Linked DNA regions of Homo sapiens: region 2 is linked to region 1. Evidence: promoter capture Hi-C in 16 types of primary human blood cells and fetal thymus (Javierre and others, 2016). All regions are on one chromosome and are shown on one strand. Each heading gives the region's core, a stretch centred on a gene start or on the middle of the fragment in contact. The rest is flanking DNA. Distances are from core to core; before and after follow the strand shown.

The links. The method cuts DNA at HindIII sites, captures the fragments that hold promoters and counts their contacts. A CHiCAGO score of 5 or more calls a contact.
Region 2: a contact is called between a fragment that was not itself captured here and the fragment with the promoter of SRGAP1 in region 1, in 1 of 17 cell types (M1 macrophages). The highest score is 5.9, in M1 macrophages.

What each region holds. Positions count from the first base shown.
Region 1 is chr12:63,841,658-63,846,583 of GRCh38, forward strand. SRGAP1 (SLIT-ROBO Rho GTPase activating protein 1) reads left to right here and starts at 3,043. Exons shown (of 22, transcript NM_020762.4): 1 at 3,043-3,226. The coding sequence starts at 3,160. RefSeq lists silencers at 1,976-2,395, 2,456-2,515, 2,626-2,885 and enhancers at 2,048-2,549, 2,550-3,049. The HindIII fragment of the contact is 14,499 bases long and covers 1-4,926 here.
Region 2 is chr12:64,258,779-64,263,704 of GRCh38, forward strand. No RefSeq gene overlaps it. Among named protein-coding and RNA genes, the nearest start is that of KICS2, 39 kb to the left of the region's middle. The HindIII fragment of the contact is 828 bases long and covers 2,639-3,466 here.

The sequences.
Region 1 (4,926 bases), core at 1,793-4,292:
ACTCTTCCTTTTCCCTGGAATGCATCCCTTTTCCTCCCTAAAGTTGCCAGCTACTTACTATTCATCCTTTAAATCCAGCTCAAAACCACTCCTCTGCGAACTCTTACACCCAATCCTCTTATGCAGTCTGTTTTTCCATCCCCAGTGCTCCCAAGACTGGGAGTATTTCTATCTCTTACAGCATTATTGTACTGCTTGTAATTATTTATTTATACAGTAATAGACTGCATGATCCTTTCCGGCAGTCTTAATCTTTGAATCCCTAGTTCCTAGCGTGGTGTTTGGCACAGAGTTAAGAACTGGAGAGCCGATCACTGGATACATGAAAGAATGATCAAAGTCTAAAAGTCCCTACTTTCTTTAGATCTTGTGGGGAAAACACTTGAGGGGATACACCTTTGGACACATCATTTTGATAAATCAGGCCCATAATATTTGAGAATTGATTTGAAAGGAGTCAGTAAATATCTCAAGTGGTGTGAGTCAAAAAGGCTAACAGAACCAGGTGTGGTGGCTGATGCTTGTAATCCCAGTGCTTTGGGAGGCTGAGGTCGGAGGATTTTCTTTTTTTTTTTTTTTTTTTTTTTTGAGAAGGAGTCTCCCTCTGTCGCCCAGGCTGGAGTGCAGTGGTGCAATCTTGGCTCACTGCAACCTCCACCTCCTGGGTTCAAGCGATTCTCCTGCCTCCGCCTCCTGAGTAGCTGGGATTATAGGCACATGCCACCATGCCCGGCTAAGTTTTATATTTTTAGTAGAGATGGGGTTTCACCATGTTGGCCAGGCTGGTCTCGGACTCTTGACCTTGTGATCTGCCCACCTCGGCCTCCCAAAGTGCTGGGATTACTGGTGTAAACCACCGTGCCCAGCCAGAATCTTTTGAGGCCAGGAGTTTGAGACCAGCCTGGGCCATAGAGCAAGGCTTCATCTCTACAAAAAAGTAAAAATAATAAAAAAAAATTTAAAAGGCTGGCAAGGATGGATTTAAAGTACTTAACACAACACCTGAACCATGCAAAGATGGCAAGGTAAATTCTTCGTTATATTGTTCAAAAAGAGACTAGAGTTTGAGACCAGCCTGGACAACATAGGGAGACCCCCGTCTGTACTAAAATGAAAACAAACAAACAAATAAAATAAAAAGAGACTAGACACGATAGATCTTGTAAAAGGTATCTATTAAAAACGTGGCCGGGCGCCGTGGCTCACACCTGTAATCCTACCACTTTGGGAGGCCGAGGTGAGCGGATCACTTGAGGTCAGGAGTTCAAGACCAGCCTGACCAACATGGCAAAACCCTGTTTCTACTAAAGATACAAAAATTACCCAGGCACGGTGGCGGGCGCCTGTAGTCACACCTACTCTGGAGGCTGAGCCAGGAGAATCACTTGAACCCGGGAGGCGGAGGTTGCAGTGAGCGGAGCTCGTGCCCCTGCACTCCAGCCTGGGCGAGAGTGAGACCCCGTCTCAAAAAAAACCCCCAAAAAACAAAATCAAAAAACAAAAACAAAAACAACCGTAAAAGTACTAAGTGCAATGTAGTGTCCTGTGTTGGATCTTGGAACAGAAAAAATGACACTAGTCGAAAAAATTGGTAAAATTGGAATAAAATCTGGAGTTTAGTAAATAAATAAGCTAACAACGCCGTTAAGTGTGACGTGTTTCCATACCATCGCTTTCCTACCATCCTAGCTTCCCTATCTACTGTAGGAATAGAGGATATGGTGTTCAAGGTGGGTGTTTTTCTCCGCCTCGATTGAAGAGCTTCGCGCTCTTTGGATTAACAGCCAGGTCATTCACAATTCAGTGTTCAGTTTTTCTATTGGGGTCCAGCGTCTCGGAGTAACATCCCTTTGTGTCATGGATACATCCAACTCTGGACTTCCCCATTAGATTCTGGCAAAAGCCCCACCAGAGCCCCCGCCAGAGCCAGAAGGCGGTCCCTCAGGTCAGGAAGGGGTTTTCCTGCCGCCGGAGCCGCGACCTCGGCTAGCGGTGGAGCGGGGCTTCGGCGGAGGGAGGTGCGGGGCCTCGGCGGAGGGAGGTGCCGGGGGCGCCGCCCACGGCCTCCTGGGCTCGGCGCGCGGGGCCGGGCTGCGGTTGGCCACAAGAGGCATCCATCTTCCCGGACCAGCCAGGCGTTTCCTAGCGGAGCAGGGGCGGGAGCTTGGACGGAGAAGGGCACAGGCCGGAGCGCGGTCCGCTCCCGCGAGCCTGGCCCCGCCTGGCGGAGCCCCGAGGAGCCACCGCCCGCAGATCGCTAGCCGGGCGCCCGCGAGGCGCGAGCCGTGTGCGCACCCTCAACTTTGCTGCCGCCGGGGGCGCGGCTCCCGCGTGCGTGTGCGAGTGTGCCTGTCACTAGCGGCCTCCTGGGGGCAGCAGCGGAAAGGGGGACGCAGAGAAAGGCAGCCTCGGCGCACCGCGGCCAGGGAGGCAGAGGCCCCTCGCGGCGCCGGCTCTGGAGACCTAAACTCCGCCGGGGCTGTGCCCAGGGCGCGTCTGAGCGTCGCCGCCTTCACCCTCTCAGCAGCAGCGGGGACTCGCGTCAGGACTGCGATTCCTTTCGCCTGCCGAGCTGTAGCGGCAGTGTCTGCGGGCAGAGGAGCGGCGGCCGTGGCAGCAGCATCCCCAGCCCGGGCGGGACCCTTGAGCGCCGGAGCCGACAGCTGGAGGCAGGAAGGGAGGGTTGTGGCGCCCGAGCTGGGCGCGTTCCCAGCGCCTGCCCTCCGCCGCTGGCCCTGTCCCGGGCGCCCGGTGCGGGTCTCGAACAATGGTGCGGAGCGCCGGCGCGAGCCCCGCGCCCGCCCAGCGGCCGTAGAGGAAGTGGCCGGGCTCCCGGCGAGGTGGGCAGGGAGACGTCCCCCGCCACTCGCTGGCTGGAGTTTGCCTGCGCGTCCGGCCTCTCCCCCGGGGATCCCCTGGGATTACCGACGGAGCTCAATTTCGAGAGTATGGTGCCAGCGCCCGGGCTAATCTAGTCCTCTCTACTCGCTCTTTTTCCCCTCCTCCTCCTACTTCTCCTCTCCCTCCTCCCTTCCCTCGGGTCGGCGCTGCCTCTGGATTGCCTGCGTGTGGGAGTACAACTCTGCCTCTCCAAGGAGAACGGGTTGTGACCACTGAACAAAACTTGCCCATTGAAAGCAAACCCGGAACAGCTGGATAATGTCCACCCCGAGCCGATTCAAGAAGGACAAAGAGATCATAGCCGAGTATGAAAGTCAAGTCAAAGGTAAGGATGGGAGCGGCTGCCTTGCTCCTTTTGTGTGCCTTCTTGTCATTGTGCTCGTGGAGTTGCGTATCTAACTTGGTGTCTGCGTGGGAGGAAGGTGGTGAGGGGACAGCTCGAGCCCTGTCTGAGCCACCTGGGCTTCCTACAAGCCAGTTAGTTCCCAGTTGCAATCCCAGTCCCGTCAAACCCACGGGGAGCTGGAAACTGGGTGACTTCCCCCGCCAGCTGCCAGCCCGCATCTCTAATGGGGAGAGAACTGGCTTTAACTTAACCACCTTCAGCTGGGCAACTTATGTGGGAAGCAGGCAGCAGTGGAGGATCCTGTCCAGCTATTATTATCACCATCATTATTCTTTTTAAATGGTAGGATTGTCACTACGTAATTTTTTTACGGAATGATTTTTGTAAAGTCTGTGAACCCCAAGCGGTCTACAGCCTCATTGAGTGCAGGCTATTTCAGATATTTACACCACTCACCTATTTACACCGCTCACAATTTATTAGGGCGAGACCCCTTTTATTAAATAGCTCCCTAAAAGCCTGGCAGTTAAACGAAGCAGTGACTAGTGGAATCTGACTCTTCCTTTATAATGGGCCAGAATTCATTGCCATCTTTCACACTCACATGGGAATATTGCTTTATCATTTTCTGGAAGCCACTTGCATGTAAAATGAAGGTTTGAATATTTGAGTAGTAGTTTCAGTCCATTTACATTGTCAACTAATGAAGGAAACCTAATTAAGGCTGATTATTTTTACTTTCTATGCCTTGTGATTAAAAATATATATATTTTCTCTCCAATACAAGTATTTTGTTTTGTTACTGAAGTGTTTCGTAAACATATGTGTTACTTGAATTTTTTCCTCCTCTTTCCTGAGGTCTCAGGAGTAGCTTTCCTGATTGAGACAATGGATGGAATGTTGGGACCGCCACTGTTCTTTGACACATTCAATGCAAAGTTCATAAAGATTGCTATGTATACACCTGTGTTTATCTATGCACAGTCTTATGAAAGGGCTACGGAGAGAGGCATTACTGTACTTCCCTTGAGCAAGGGAGGAGCAGCCTGAGTGTTCTTTTGTGTGGTCAAGTTGTAAAAATGCCTGGAGTCCTGTGAGAGGACCTGGTGGAGAAATCCTGTATCATCCAGTGTGAATACAGACCAACTCATTGTGGACACTGCAGACACAATATGCAAGATAACTTAGGTTATCTTTAGGAGGACCCCTATAATGGAGTTATCTATAGGCTGACCCCTATAATGTGTTCAGGAGACACAGATTTTTGTCTGCTTGGAATTGTGATAATTTATACTTACAGGAACTTGTTTCATTGCTATGGAAGTTGTGTTAGCAGATAAGTAATTATTTTCTTAGAGCCAGGTAAACTTTCTAATGAGACTAACCTTTCTTTTTTCAGTGAGTCCAACATAGCCTAAAACCTTTCATTCCAGGGCAGTACTCTTGTTCACAACCACCATTTCTCTGTGCAGTTTTTCCACATGGCTCTTTGTGGCAGGTCTTCAAGGGGTGGCGGTCTGGTTTTTCTGCCGCCTAGAGCACTAATTGGCAAATGCACTTCCAAATGTTGATTTCTTTATGTTTGCTGTAAGGTCACTTGCCAGTGATCAAGTCCTTATTTGAAAATCAGCGAAATGGGATGTGTTGCAATGTGTCTATCAAATTCAAACGGAAGAAAA
Region 2 (4,926 bases), core at 1,803-4,302, 420 kb after region 1:
CCTCCAAGGCCTCTCTACGTGGTGGCTTGGAAACAGAAGCTGCCAGACCCAGACCGTCTTAAAGTCTGGGGTCTGAAATCCTAGAACTTTACTTCCTCCACATTCTTCTGGTCAGAATAGCACAGGCTCAGCCCAGATGAGAGCAGAAGAGACACAAACTTCACCTCTTTTTTTTTTTTTTTTTTTTTTTTGAGACAGGGTTTCATTCCTGTCACCCCAGGCTGGAGTGCAGTGGCATAATCTGGGCTCACGGCAACCTCCGCCTCCCAGGTTCAAACGTTTCTCTTGCTTCAGCCTCCTAAGTAGCTGGGACTACAGGCGTGCACCACCATGCCTGGCTAATTTTTGTATTTTGGTAGAGACAGGGTTTTGTCATGTTGCCCAGGTGATCTCAAACTCCTGATCTCAGGTGATCCGCCCACCTCAGCCTCCCAAAGTGCTGGGATTATAGGTGTGAGCCACTGCACCTGGACAAACTTCACCTCTTGATGGGAGGAGTAACATGCAAATATAGTGAGGGATGGTATGGTTTGGAACATGCTTGGAGATCAGCTATCACTTTGACTTTTTTGAAAACCATACTGATGCTGGACGTGGTGGCTCATACCTGTAATCTCAGCACTTTGAGAGGCCGAGGCGGGCAGATCACTTGAGGTCAGGAGTTCGAGACCAGCCTGGCCAACATGGTGAAGCCCTGTCTCTACTAAAAATATAAAAAGAATATTAGCCAGGCATGGCGGTGTGCACCTATAATCCCAGCTACTCAGGAGGCTGAGGCAGGAGAATTGCTTGAACCTGGGAGGCAGAGGTTGCAGTAAGCTGAGATCGCGCCACTGCACTCTAGCCTGGGCAACAGAGTGAGACTCCATCTCAAAAAAAGAAACAAACAAACAAACCATACTGAAATCTTAAGCCAGTAATTAATCCTCATCTAATTTGTGTTTTATTAGTCCATTTATTCCTTCAACATAGATGAAACACTTTGTGCCAGGCACTATTCTGGGTGCTGAGGATAAAGTATTGAACAAGACAAAGAAGGGTCAAACCCTCATGGAGCTTACATCCTGAAATTCTCACATTGCAAAGAATAAGCAAGTAAACAAATACGTTAAAAGGTAATGTAGGTGGGTGAGACTCTACTGTAGAGTGATCAAAGAAGCTCTTTGAAGTGACAGCTGAAGATCAGGGAAAAAACATTTACTAGTACAAATTTCCAGGGCCTGAAAGAGCTTGGGGTGTTTATTAGAAGGAATAGCACAAAGGCCAATGTGTTTGGGGAGTAGCAAATGAGGAGGAGAATGATTTGGATTAGGTCACAGAGGTAATCATGGGTGAGGTCATTAAGGGCCTTGAAGGCCATGGTAAGGACGTGGGATTTACTCCTGGATAATGGAAAGCAGTGCAAAGATTTAAATTCATTGGCCGGGTACGGTGGCTCATGCCTGTGATCCCAGCACTTTGGGAGGTCAAGGAGGGCAGATTACCTGAGGTCAGGAGTTCGAGACCAGCCTGGCCAACATGGTGAAACCCTGTCTCTACTAAAAATACAAAAATTAGCTGGGCATGGTGGTGGGTGCCTGTAATCCCAGTTACTCGAGAGGCTGAGGCAGGAGAATCACTTTAACTCAGGAGGTGGAGGTTGCAGTGAACCGAGATTGCACTATTGCATTCCAGCCTGGGCAACAAGGGTGAAACTCTGTCTCCAAAAGAAAAAAAAAAAGATTTAAATTCATTAACTCAGAAGTTATATTGATTTCCATGTTCAAAATACCACCGTCCCTTTAAAAAATGGATTGTAGGGGTCAAAAGTGACTAAATAGGCTATTACAGTAGTTGCTGGAGATTCAAACTAGGGTAATAGCCATAATTATGAGAAGTCAGTAGATCAGGAATATATCTTGAAGAAATTGCCAATAAGCACTGCTGATGGGTTACATTTGGGGAATAAAGAGAAGGGAGGAAACAGATCCCTCAGGTTTCTCTTTTGAGTAGTGGAGTGAATGGAGTGCCATTCACTTAGAGGGAGAGACTAGTGGAAGAACAGACTTTTACTGTCACATAAGGCAATCAAGAAAATTAATTCCATTCTGAAAATGTTTAGGTATGTTATAACCACACAATAATTTGTAAGTGAATTCTATGACTTGATGTATGGTTTATGCAAATCTGTGCAAGAATAAGCCATGCTATAACAAAGTGTCAAACTACTTGGGAAATGAGAATAAACCATATACTGTATATTTAAAGTACAAGGTCACTAAGCAAGTGAGTATTTCTGTTAAGATAATAGCTACCATTTATTGAGGGCTTGCTGTTTGTTTGAACCATATGGAATTGCAGATCCCAACATTTTCGGACTTGAAAATGGCAATGCTATATGGGTCATCCTAATATATAGTAACCATAGAATTAGATGTTTATATACAAATTAATTAATATTCACATATTCACAAAAACCCTTAAGGTAGGCTTCTTACTATCTCATAGTTTACAAAATAAAGGTTCTGGAAGATTTAAAATAACCTGCCAAAAGTCTGATGACAAGTAAGAACAAGGTCTGACATAGCATCTTATCCCAAAAGTTACACTACCCAGATTTCTAGCCAAGGAATCATGTTGCCTTCCCCAAAATGACAAAAGCTTCAGATCCACAAGGCACAGAAATACAGAGAAGTGCTTGGTCTGACGGCATGGAGAATGGCTGTCTCCCCACTATAGATACCCAAATTCAAGTTGACCTTACAAGCCTGCACTGCATTTATTTTATTTTATTTTATTTTTTATTTATTTTTTGAGACAGAGTCTTGCTCTGTTGCCCAGGCTGGAGTGCAGTTGTGCAATCTCGGCTCCCTGCAACCTCTGCCTCCTGGGTTCAAGTGATTCTCCTGCCTCAGCCTCCCGAGTAGCTGGGATTACAGGCACCTGCCACCATGCCCAGCTAATTTGTGTATTTTTAGTAGAGACAGGGCTTCACCATACTGGCCAGGCTGGGCCCGAACTCCTGACCTCAAGTGATCTGCCCACCTCGGCCTCCCAAAGTGTTGGGATTACAGGTGTGAGCCACCACGCCCGGCCTGTACTGCATTTTAGAAGCAAATCCAATGAACAAAGAGCAATCAGACAGTAATTTAACACTATTAAGAGTTGTTCAAAAATTCCCACCATGAACCTGGCATGCTGGCATGTACCTGCAGTCTCAGCTACTCGAGAGGCTGAGGCAGGAGGATTGCCTGAGCCCAGGAGTTTGAGGCTGTGGTGTGCTGTGATCTCACCTGTGAGTAGCCGTTGCACTACAGCCTGGCCAATATAGCAAGACCCCATCTCAAGAAAAAAAAAATCAAATTTATCTCGTCAAGAATTTTCAGCTTCTCTTCCATATTTATCACTGAACCTCTCTAATATGCAAATATGTGAAATATAAAACAAATGGTTGTAGCCTCAGAAAAAATATAATGGCACAGGTTGAAGCTTAGCAGCCAAAAAGCTTTCACTATGCTTATCAGCTGCCTTATAGAACATTTATTAATGTACTCTCAAGCATCTTCATGCAAAATTAAAAGTGGTACCGCCAGTGAGTGAGATTCAATATGAAATTATGTAAAACATGCTATCAGTTATAGGAACTTCAGGCTTTTCCCTCTTTGCACAGTAGCTAGAGTATCTAAATTTCAGTAAAACTCAAGAAATTTGGCTGGGCACAGTGGCTCATCCCTGTAATCCTAGCACTTTGGAAGGCCGAGGCGGGCAGATCACTTGACGTCAGGAGTTCGAGACCAGCCTGGCCAACATAGTGAAACCGTCTCTACTAAAAATACAAAATTAGCTGGGTGTGGTGGCACATGCCTGTAATCCCAACTACTCGGGATGCTGAGGCAGGAGAATTGCTTGAGCCCAGGAGGTGGGGCTGCAGTGAGCCAAGATCGTGCCATTGCACTCCAGCCTGGGGGGCAAGAGTGAAACTCAAAAAAAAAAAAAAAAAGAAAAGGAATACTTCATGTATCTCCTCTAACACTACCTGTAAATCCATTTGGAACTCTGTAAGTAAAGAATGGCTATTTCAATTTGGTCACTTAGCAATTACCCGTTCAAGTCAAAGGCTGAAAAAAGTTTAGGAACTAAAAAGCTTTCTGTCCACCCTTGGAAAGAGTGTTTTCCACGTAGATCTTCCATTGATGGCGCTAATTAGAGCCAACACTCTTTCCTGGTGGTAAGCAGTGAAAATAGTCACTTGTCAGGCCGGGCATGGTGGCTCACGCTTGTAATCCCAGCACTTTGGGAGGCTGAGGCCGGTGGATCACCTGAGGTCAGAAGTTCGAGACCAGCCTGGCCAACATGGTGAAACCCGTCTCTACTAAAAATACAAAAAAATTGCCAGGCGTGGTGGTGGGAGCCTGTAATCCCAGCTACTTGGGAGGATGAGGCAGCAGAATCGCTTGAACCCGGGAGGCAGAGGTTGCAGTTAGCCAAGGTTGTGCCATTGCACTCCAGCCTGGGCAAGTAGAGTGAAACTCAGTCTCAAAAAAAAAAAAAAAAATTCAAATGAATCTGTTCTCCAATGCTCTATAGACCAGGGGTTCTATGAGTACAGCGGCTGGTCCTCAGATTGGTTAAAAAAATAAGGCAATATTTATTAGTCTCTAAATTCTCACCCAGCTTTGTTAACTTTAACAATATATACCCCAAGTCTTTACTGCATGTCAGATACCGTGCTGTGTGCTAAAGCATTTATGTTTTCATTTAAATCTCCTAACACCCTTTGCAGTAGGTTATATTATCTTTGCTTTAACTGCAGCTTACAAATATTTGTAACTTCCTAAGGTCCAAAACAAGTGCAGAACTGGAATTTAAACCATTTCGGCTCCAAAACCAGTGTTCTTACCCGCATTATATATAGATGAAATTTTAAAATTATAATTATATATAATT